Linked DNA regions of Homo sapiens: region 2 is linked to region 1. The links are contacts of gene promoters, found by promoter capture Hi-C in human tissues and cell types (Jung and others, 2019). All regions are on one chromosome and are shown on one strand. Each heading gives the region's core, a stretch centred on a gene start or on the middle of the fragment in contact. The rest is flanking DNA. Distances are from core to core; before and after follow the strand shown. Region 1 holds the start of A2ML1 (alpha-2-macroglobulin like 1). Region 2 overlaps A2ML1-AS1 (A2ML1 antisense RNA 1).

What was found. Contacts are between HindIII fragments. The study calls those that stand out against the background at their distance.
Region 2: a fragment that was not itself captured here is called in contact with the fragment with the promoter of A2ML1 in region 1 in 3 of the 25 tissues and cell types used here (H1 embryonic stem cells, mesendoderm cells and thymus).

The regions. Positions count from the first base shown.
Region 1 is chr12:8,821,246-8,825,137 of GRCh38, forward strand. It overlaps A2ML1 (alpha-2-macroglobulin like 1), which reads left to right and starts at 1,376. Exons shown (of 36, transcript NM_144670.6): 1 at 1,376-1,468; 2 at 1,937-2,120; 3 at 2,475-2,637. The coding sequence starts at 1,407. All of the region lies in intron 1 of A2ML1-AS1 (A2ML1 antisense RNA 1), which reads right to left. The HindIII fragment of the contact is 7,738 bases long and covers 1-2,994 here.
Region 2 is chr12:8,782,299-8,785,848 of GRCh38, forward strand. All of the region lies in intron 1 of A2ML1-AS1 (A2ML1 antisense RNA 1), which reads right to left. It also overlaps a transcript of RIMKLB not described here. Among named protein-coding and RNA genes, the nearest start is that of LINC02972, 4.2 kb to the right of the region's middle. The HindIII fragment of the contact is 5,071 bases long and covers 1-3,550 here.

The DNA.
Region 1 (3,892 bases), core at 126-2,625:
GCAATCCTCCAGCTTCTGACTCCCAAAAGCTGGGATTATAGGCATGAGCCACTGCACTTAGACTAATTTATATTTTAGGTGACTTCTAAGTATTACCATCATAAAGAACACTGTGGGCTGGGCACGGTGGCTCATACCTGTAATCCCAGCACTTTGGGAGGCTGAGGTGGTCCCTGGAGCTCAGGAGTTCGAGACTAGCCTGGGCAACATGGTGAAACCCTGTCTCTATTAAAAATACAAAACAATTAGCCAGGAGTGTTGGTGCCTACCTGTGGTCCCAGCTACTCAGGAGGTGGAGGTGGGAGGATCGCTTGAGCCCAGGAGGTCAAAGCTGCAGTGGGCTGAGATTGTGCCACTGCACTCCAGCCTGGGTGATAAAGTGAGACTCTACTTCAAAAAAATAAAAAATAAAGAAAAGAAAAAAAAGAAAGAACAGTGTGAAAAAACTCAGTGTTACACTTGTGCATACATGCATGCTGTCCTTTTTTTCCTCATTAAGAAACATTTCCAGAGTAGGAGTTGCTGAGTGAAAGAATATGCAAATCTCAAAGGCTTTGGTGTGTATTACAAAATTGCCATGAGAAAGTTATCCACATTCTATTTTCTCTAGGACTGTGTGTGTCCCTATTTCCATACAGTCACAACAATACTGAGTAGTATTAATTTTTTTTTTTTTTGAGACAGAGTCTCGTTGTGTCACCCACGCTGGAGTAAAGTGGCATGATCTCGGCTCACTGCAACCTCCACCTCCCGGGTTCAAGCGATTCTCCTGCCTCAGCCTCCCAAGTAGCTGGGACTATAGGCACCCACCACTATGCCCAGCTGATTTTTTTTTCTTTGTATTTTTAGTAGAGACAGGGTTTCACTATGTTGGCCAGGCTGGTCTTGAACTCCTGACCTGGTGATCTGCCCACCTCAACCCCCCAAAGTGCTGGGATTACAGGCGTGAGCCACTGTGACCGGCCAAGTTTACTGCTTTTCTATTGAAACTGTTCTCATACCCGTGTTCCCAACTACACCTTAATTGAATAATAAAAGAAAATAAGGACATTAAATGAGAACAGGAATTGGAATGAGACCAGAAAAAAAGGGAGGAGTTCAAAATATGTTCTGAGAGCTTTACCATTATGAATACTCAGCTCTGGTTTTCCCCCAAAACTGGCTGAACCAGTATGGATGTTCCAGGCAGAAACAACTTTAAAGAAGTGAATAGTGGCCCTACCCTGGTCCACCACCTAACCTGGTGGTTACAGAAGGAGGAACACAGTCCTCCTGTGTTCCAGGTGCCAGGAGGTGACTGACTATAGCATCAGTCATCACTGCACACCCTACCTGGAATTAGTATATAAAGCTACGCGGAGCGATCTCTGCCCCTGACCCTGGAAAAATCTGTCTCACCCACAAAGATGTGGGCTCAGCTCCTTCTAGGAATGTTGGCCCTATCACCAGCCATTGCAGAAGAACTTCCGTGAGTGCTTGGTGTCAGAATTGGTTTATTAGGGCAGCGGCTTCTTCGCCTAACTTTCTCAAACATTTATATGGAGATGGGGAGATCAACTTTGGTTTATCTTAATTTCCTCCTCCTTTTTTCTCTTCTTTGGTTCCACTGATCCTTTACCCAGAGAGGGAGGCTGACGCATGAAGAGGAAGCTTTAAAAAAGATAAATATTAAAATGTGCCCTGTTTTCTGAAATAGGCCTAATTTCCTCCTTGGTGCTCTAGGCATGTGTGCTCGGTGAGGGCCTCCTGATGGCGGAAGTTGAAGACTGTGCACTGAGTCGTTGCCCCTCTGCTTCTTGTAGAAAATGAGGTGCATAAGGAAGGCAGGGGCTTGGTCTGTCTAATTCACTGCTACTTGCTGAGCGCTTAGGAGAGTGCTGGATTTTTCGAGTGAATGAATCATTATTGCCCTGAAATCCTTCTGCTCCTTTAATAGAAACTACCTGGTGACATTACCAGCCCGGCTAAATTTCCCCTCCGTTCAGAAGGTTTGTTTGGACCTGAGCCCTGGGTACAGTGATGTTAAATTCACGGTTACTCTGGAGACCAAGGACAAGACCCAGAAGTTGCTAGAATACTCTGGACTGAAGAAGAGGCACTTACATTGTATCTCCTTTCTTGTAAGCACAGACTCAGCCCTCACTCGAATCCCTTACTTGCCTATTCTCCTCCCTAGGCTCACTATAATCTACTTTAAGTATAATTTCTGTTATCTTTTGCCACGGCCTCTAAACCTATTTTTTCTCAACTTAACCTCAATCCCCGGCTATAACTCACCCACGGTTTCCTCGACCTAGGATTTCTCCCTTTAGTTCCTGACCTTAATTCTTCCTCGTGGTAATTTGTTTTATGTCTCTATCCTTGCTACCCCCATCTAACTCAGCTCTTTCCTTTAACTCACTGTTGGGTTGAGACCAGTTGATTCTGTTCCCCCAATCCCTTACCCCTCCCCAGAAGTCCCCTTTCTTGGTCAGGTACCACCTCCTGCTGGTGGCACAGAAGAAGTGGCCACAATCCGGGTGTCGGGAGTTGGAAATAACATCAGCTTTGAGGAGAAGAAAAAGGTTCTAATTCAGAGGCAGGGGAACGGCACCTTTGTACAGACTGACAAACCTCTCTACACCCCAGGGCAGCAAGGTAAGAGTCACATATTTGGGGTTCGACTAAAACCTGGGGAAACCGCTGTGCACAGGGGTAAAGAGGGGATTTGTGGTTTGACAGTAGGCTTTGGAAAAAAAGGAGTGCAGAGGAGAGGAAAATCTGGGGGGATTAAGTAGTGCAAGTGTTGAATACATGCTGCGCTACACAAGCAAGAGAAGTAGGTGGGGGTTGCTACTGAGTTTGTGTATCTAAAACAAAAGTACACATTTCTTCTGGAATAGAATTTGGCAAGTATAACTGGGTTGCTGGGCCTTACAACAAACTGCTTGTAAATGGCTAAGAAAGCACTGAGGGCATTTGGCTTGAGCTACTGGGGTTTTTTTTTTTTTTTTTTTTTTTTTTTGTATTTGTTCATTCGTCCTTACAGGGGCACTTCATTCTGAGATTTCAAAGTCAGGCACCCTGAAAAGAAACTATGTTTGGGTTTTTTTTATTTTTTTATTTAAAATTTTTGTGGGTACATAGCTGGTGTATATATATTTATGGGGTAGATGAGATATTTTTATACACACACACAATGTGTAATCATTACATCAGGGTACATGTGTATCCATCACCTCAAGCATTTATCATTTCCTTGTATTACAAACAATCCAATTATACTCTCTTAGTAATTTTTAAATGTGCAATAAATTATTGTTGACTGTAGTCACTCTTTGTGCTAAAAACTACAAGATCCCTAGATCTTATTCATTCTAGCTAAATATATTTTTGTACCCATTAACCATTCCCACCCCACCCCTCATCCTGCCCACCATTACCCTTCCCAGCATCTGGTAACCATCATTCTGTTCTCTCTCTCTCTTTCAAAAAAATTTTTTTCCTTTTACCTTATTTTTTTCCACACACTTAAAAATTATTATTCTATTCTCTATCTCCACGACTTCAATTGTTTTAATTTTTAGCTCCCACAAATAAATGAGAACATGGAAAGTTTGTCTTTCTGTGTCTGGTTTATTTTACTTAACATAATGACCTCCTGTTCCATTCAGGCTGTTGCAAAGGATGGGGTCTCATTCTTTTTTATGGCTGAATAGTACTCCATTATGTATGTGTACCACATTTTTTAATCCATTTTTTATCATCTGTTCATAGACACTTAGGTTGCTTCCATATCTTGGCTATTGTGAATACTGATGCCATAAACATGGCAGCACAGATAGTCTTTGATATACTGATTTCCTTTCTTTTGTATATATACTTAGCAGTGGGCTTGCAGGATTATATGGAA
Region 2 (3,550 bases), core at 982-3,481, 38 kb before region 1:
TAGATTTTTTCTTTTGGTACAATTTTTCTGACTAAAATGCAGCATAATTGTCTTTATTATAGGATTGCTAAGGAGTAATAGTACGGAGACATCTTTGTGGTTTTATACACACACACATATATATATTTAACATAAGCTGTCTAAAATAAGTCACAAAACTTGCAGATTAGAAAAGGAAGCACATTTTGGCTGTTTTGGTGTCAGCATCTTAATTAAGTAGAAAATATTATGGACCTATAAATTGAACTTGCGACTGTTCACTCACTAGAGAGAACAATTTCCAGGGAGTTAGAATAGTTTTTCCTGAAGGAGAGTCAAATAAATTTGGGAAATAAGGTTGCTCTTGTAAAACAGTAATAGATTTAGCTTTTATTTTTTAATGATAAGAACATTAAATGTCTTCTAAGTCAGAATCAGAGTATATCTTTGTTAACTGAGCTCACCAAGACAAAGTGATAATAACACAAAACTGTGGTTTTTGGTAGTCTAATCAATTTAGAATGTTTTATTGTCATGTTAGTTGATTTTCTGTCTTTATTTGTATTTTTTCTTATCCTGGTTATAGAGACTTTTAAAATCTATGATTTAAATAAGTTGTGTTTTTCCCCCCTAGGTTCTTTTGAAGTAACCAGTGATCTTTTTTGCTTACCCTCATCAACAGAATGGATGAAGATAGATTTGACTGTGTGCTTTTTCAAGTGGAGAATATGAATATACAGAACAAGAAAGCAATAACTCCAACCTGTTTGATTCCGTCTGTTTTCTAAATAAAGACACTATGCGCTGGAAATAACATAGCATGCCGTGTGACTTGTTCTTTATATCAGTTCACTTTGGTCCAGATATCTAGACTTGATTTCTAGCTCCACATGTCATTCCCTTTTTTTCTACTCTTCGCCTTTTGCTCTTGAGTCCTTTGGTTCTTAACAGACTGATTTCTATGATACCTTCTAAAATGATTACTCCTCTTTTGGCACATAGGTGAGCACTATTCAATGGATTTTCCCCTGTCCTTTTTAATCACACTTTTATCTGTCCATGCTGAATAGTTGTTGCTGTACTTTTTAATCTCTGAAGAAATGCAAACTTTTTAAAAATTTCACCCTGAACATCATAGAGTGTACTTACACCTATATGGTACAGCCTACTATACACCTGGGCTATGTGGTATAGCTTACTGCTTGTAAGCTACTATCCTGTAGAGCATGTGAATACTGTAGACAATTGCAACGCAATGGCAACTATCTTATTAAAATTTAATGGCCGGACACGGTAGCTCATGCCTGCAATCCCAACACTTTGGGAGGCTGAGGCGGGCAGATCATTTGAGGTCAGGAGTTCAAGACCAGCCTGGCCTGGAAACCCTGTCTCTACTAAGAATACAAAAAATTAGTGGGGCATGGTAGCGGGCACCTGTAATTCCAGCTACTTGGGAAGCTGAGGCAGAATCCCTTGAGCCCGGGAGGCAGAGGTTGCAGTGAGCCAAGAACACACCACTGCACTCCAGCCTGGGCGACAGAGTGAGACTCCGTCACCAAAAAAAAAAAAAAAAAAAGCATGATGCTGGGCATGGTGGCCTACGCCTGTAATCCAGCACTTTGGGAGGCCCAGGTGAGCAGATTGCTTGAGGTCAAAGAGTTCGAGACCAGCCTGACCAACATGGTGAAACCCTATCTATCTCTACTAAAAATTATATATATAAAAATCAGCCAGGCATGGTGGCGCATAATCTCAGCTACTCAGGAGGCTGAGGCAGGAGAATCGCTTGAAAAGCCTTAGCTGGGCATGGTGCCTCACGCCTGTGATGCCAACACTGGTAGGTTGAGGTGGGCGGCTCACTTGAGCCCAGGAGTTCAAGACCAGCCTGGGCAACATGGTAAAATCCGGTGTCTACAAAAAAATGAGCCCAGCGTGGTGGTGCACACTTGTCCCAGCTACTCAGGAGGCTGAGGTGGCAGGATCACCTGAGCCCAGGAGATCGAGGCTGCAGTGAGCCATGATCATGCCATTGCACTGCAGCCTGGGTAACAGAGTAAGACCCTGTCTCAAAAAAAAACACTTTGATTATCATCATTTAACAAGTTTATTGTTAAAGCATGCATGGTAGTGTCACCTTGGATCCTCCAAAAGGCAGACACCAAGGTGGAGTCAGATACACTAGAGCTGTACTGAGGGAAATGCCTGTGAGGGATACAAGGGAGAGGGATCAGTAGGCAGGGAAGGCCTTCAGAATGCAATGTGCATGTGACAGAAGAGAGAGAAGAGAACTCAAACCTCAGCTGCTCTGAGAGTCTCCCAGCCTGATGAGGAATCTCAGAGCAGATTACCTATTAAGAGCAGTCCCAGATTGGGCAGAGATGGCCTGACTACTAGTCCAGAGCAGCCTGGGGAGAACACATGGTTTTCATGTGAGTGCTGTAACAGATCAGGAGGACTAGCAGCTGGTGGCTGTCAGATTTGTTACTTGCATCCAGTTTTCTTGAGAACTGAGTGGCACAATTCCACTCCTTAACACTGCACAGATCCACTTTACACCTTTGGGTAGCCCCTCCACAGTTCCATGAGCTTCTGATATAAACTCCACATCACATTGCATCTTTTCCTGCCACTGATACCCTCTTATACTATAAAGTTTATCAGATCATGTGGTCCAGTTTGTAGGGCTGCTTGCATCATAGCCTGAATCTTAATTTTCAACAGCCCTTTCTTGCTCCAAGGCCCTACTCAAGCCTAACATTTTTTTCATGTCATTTACTATATGGGTTGGAGTAGTGTTTCTAGGTGGAATGTCTTGCTTTCTGAATCTAGAGAACCCCAGAGTTACAGTGCTTGCTTCCTTGTAGCAGGTGATGCAAAATGTAGTGTGTCTTTTTACTTTGTAGAGTATTCCAGCATGCCCATGTCCCCTGGTCTCCTAGAACCCTTAAAGGAATGGCAGATCCTGGCCGGGAGCATTGGCTCACCCGGTGGCTCTGGGATTACAAAGCCTGTAATCCCAGCACTTTGGGAGGCCGAGGCGGGTGGATCATGAGGTCAGGAGTTTGAGACCAGCCTGGCCAAGATGGTGAAACCCTGTCTCTACTAAAAATACAAAAATTAGCCAGGCGTGGTGGCGCGCACCTGTAGTCCCAGCTACTTGGGAGGCTGAGGCAGGAGAATTGCTTGAACCCAGGAGGCGGAGGTTGCAGTGAGCCGAGATCGTACCATTGCACTCCAGCCTGGGCGACAAGAGCAAAACTCCATCTTAAAATAAAAAAAAAAAAAAAGGAATTGCAGATCCCCAAATCTATGTAGAGTTTCTCTCTCACCTGGGACACATAGCAAGGCTTCCGGTGTGCTAGCTACCTTACATTCATTTTGCTTATTTAGCATGATGTCATTGATGTAATGTTCTATGGAATGCCCAGATGGCCCACGTATTAGGCCATTCTTGCATTGCTATAAAGAAATACCTGAGACTGGTTAATTTACAAGAAAAGAATTGGCTCATGTTCCTACAGGAAGCATAGCAGCATCTTCCTTCCTGAGGGGAGGCCTCAGGAAGCTTGCA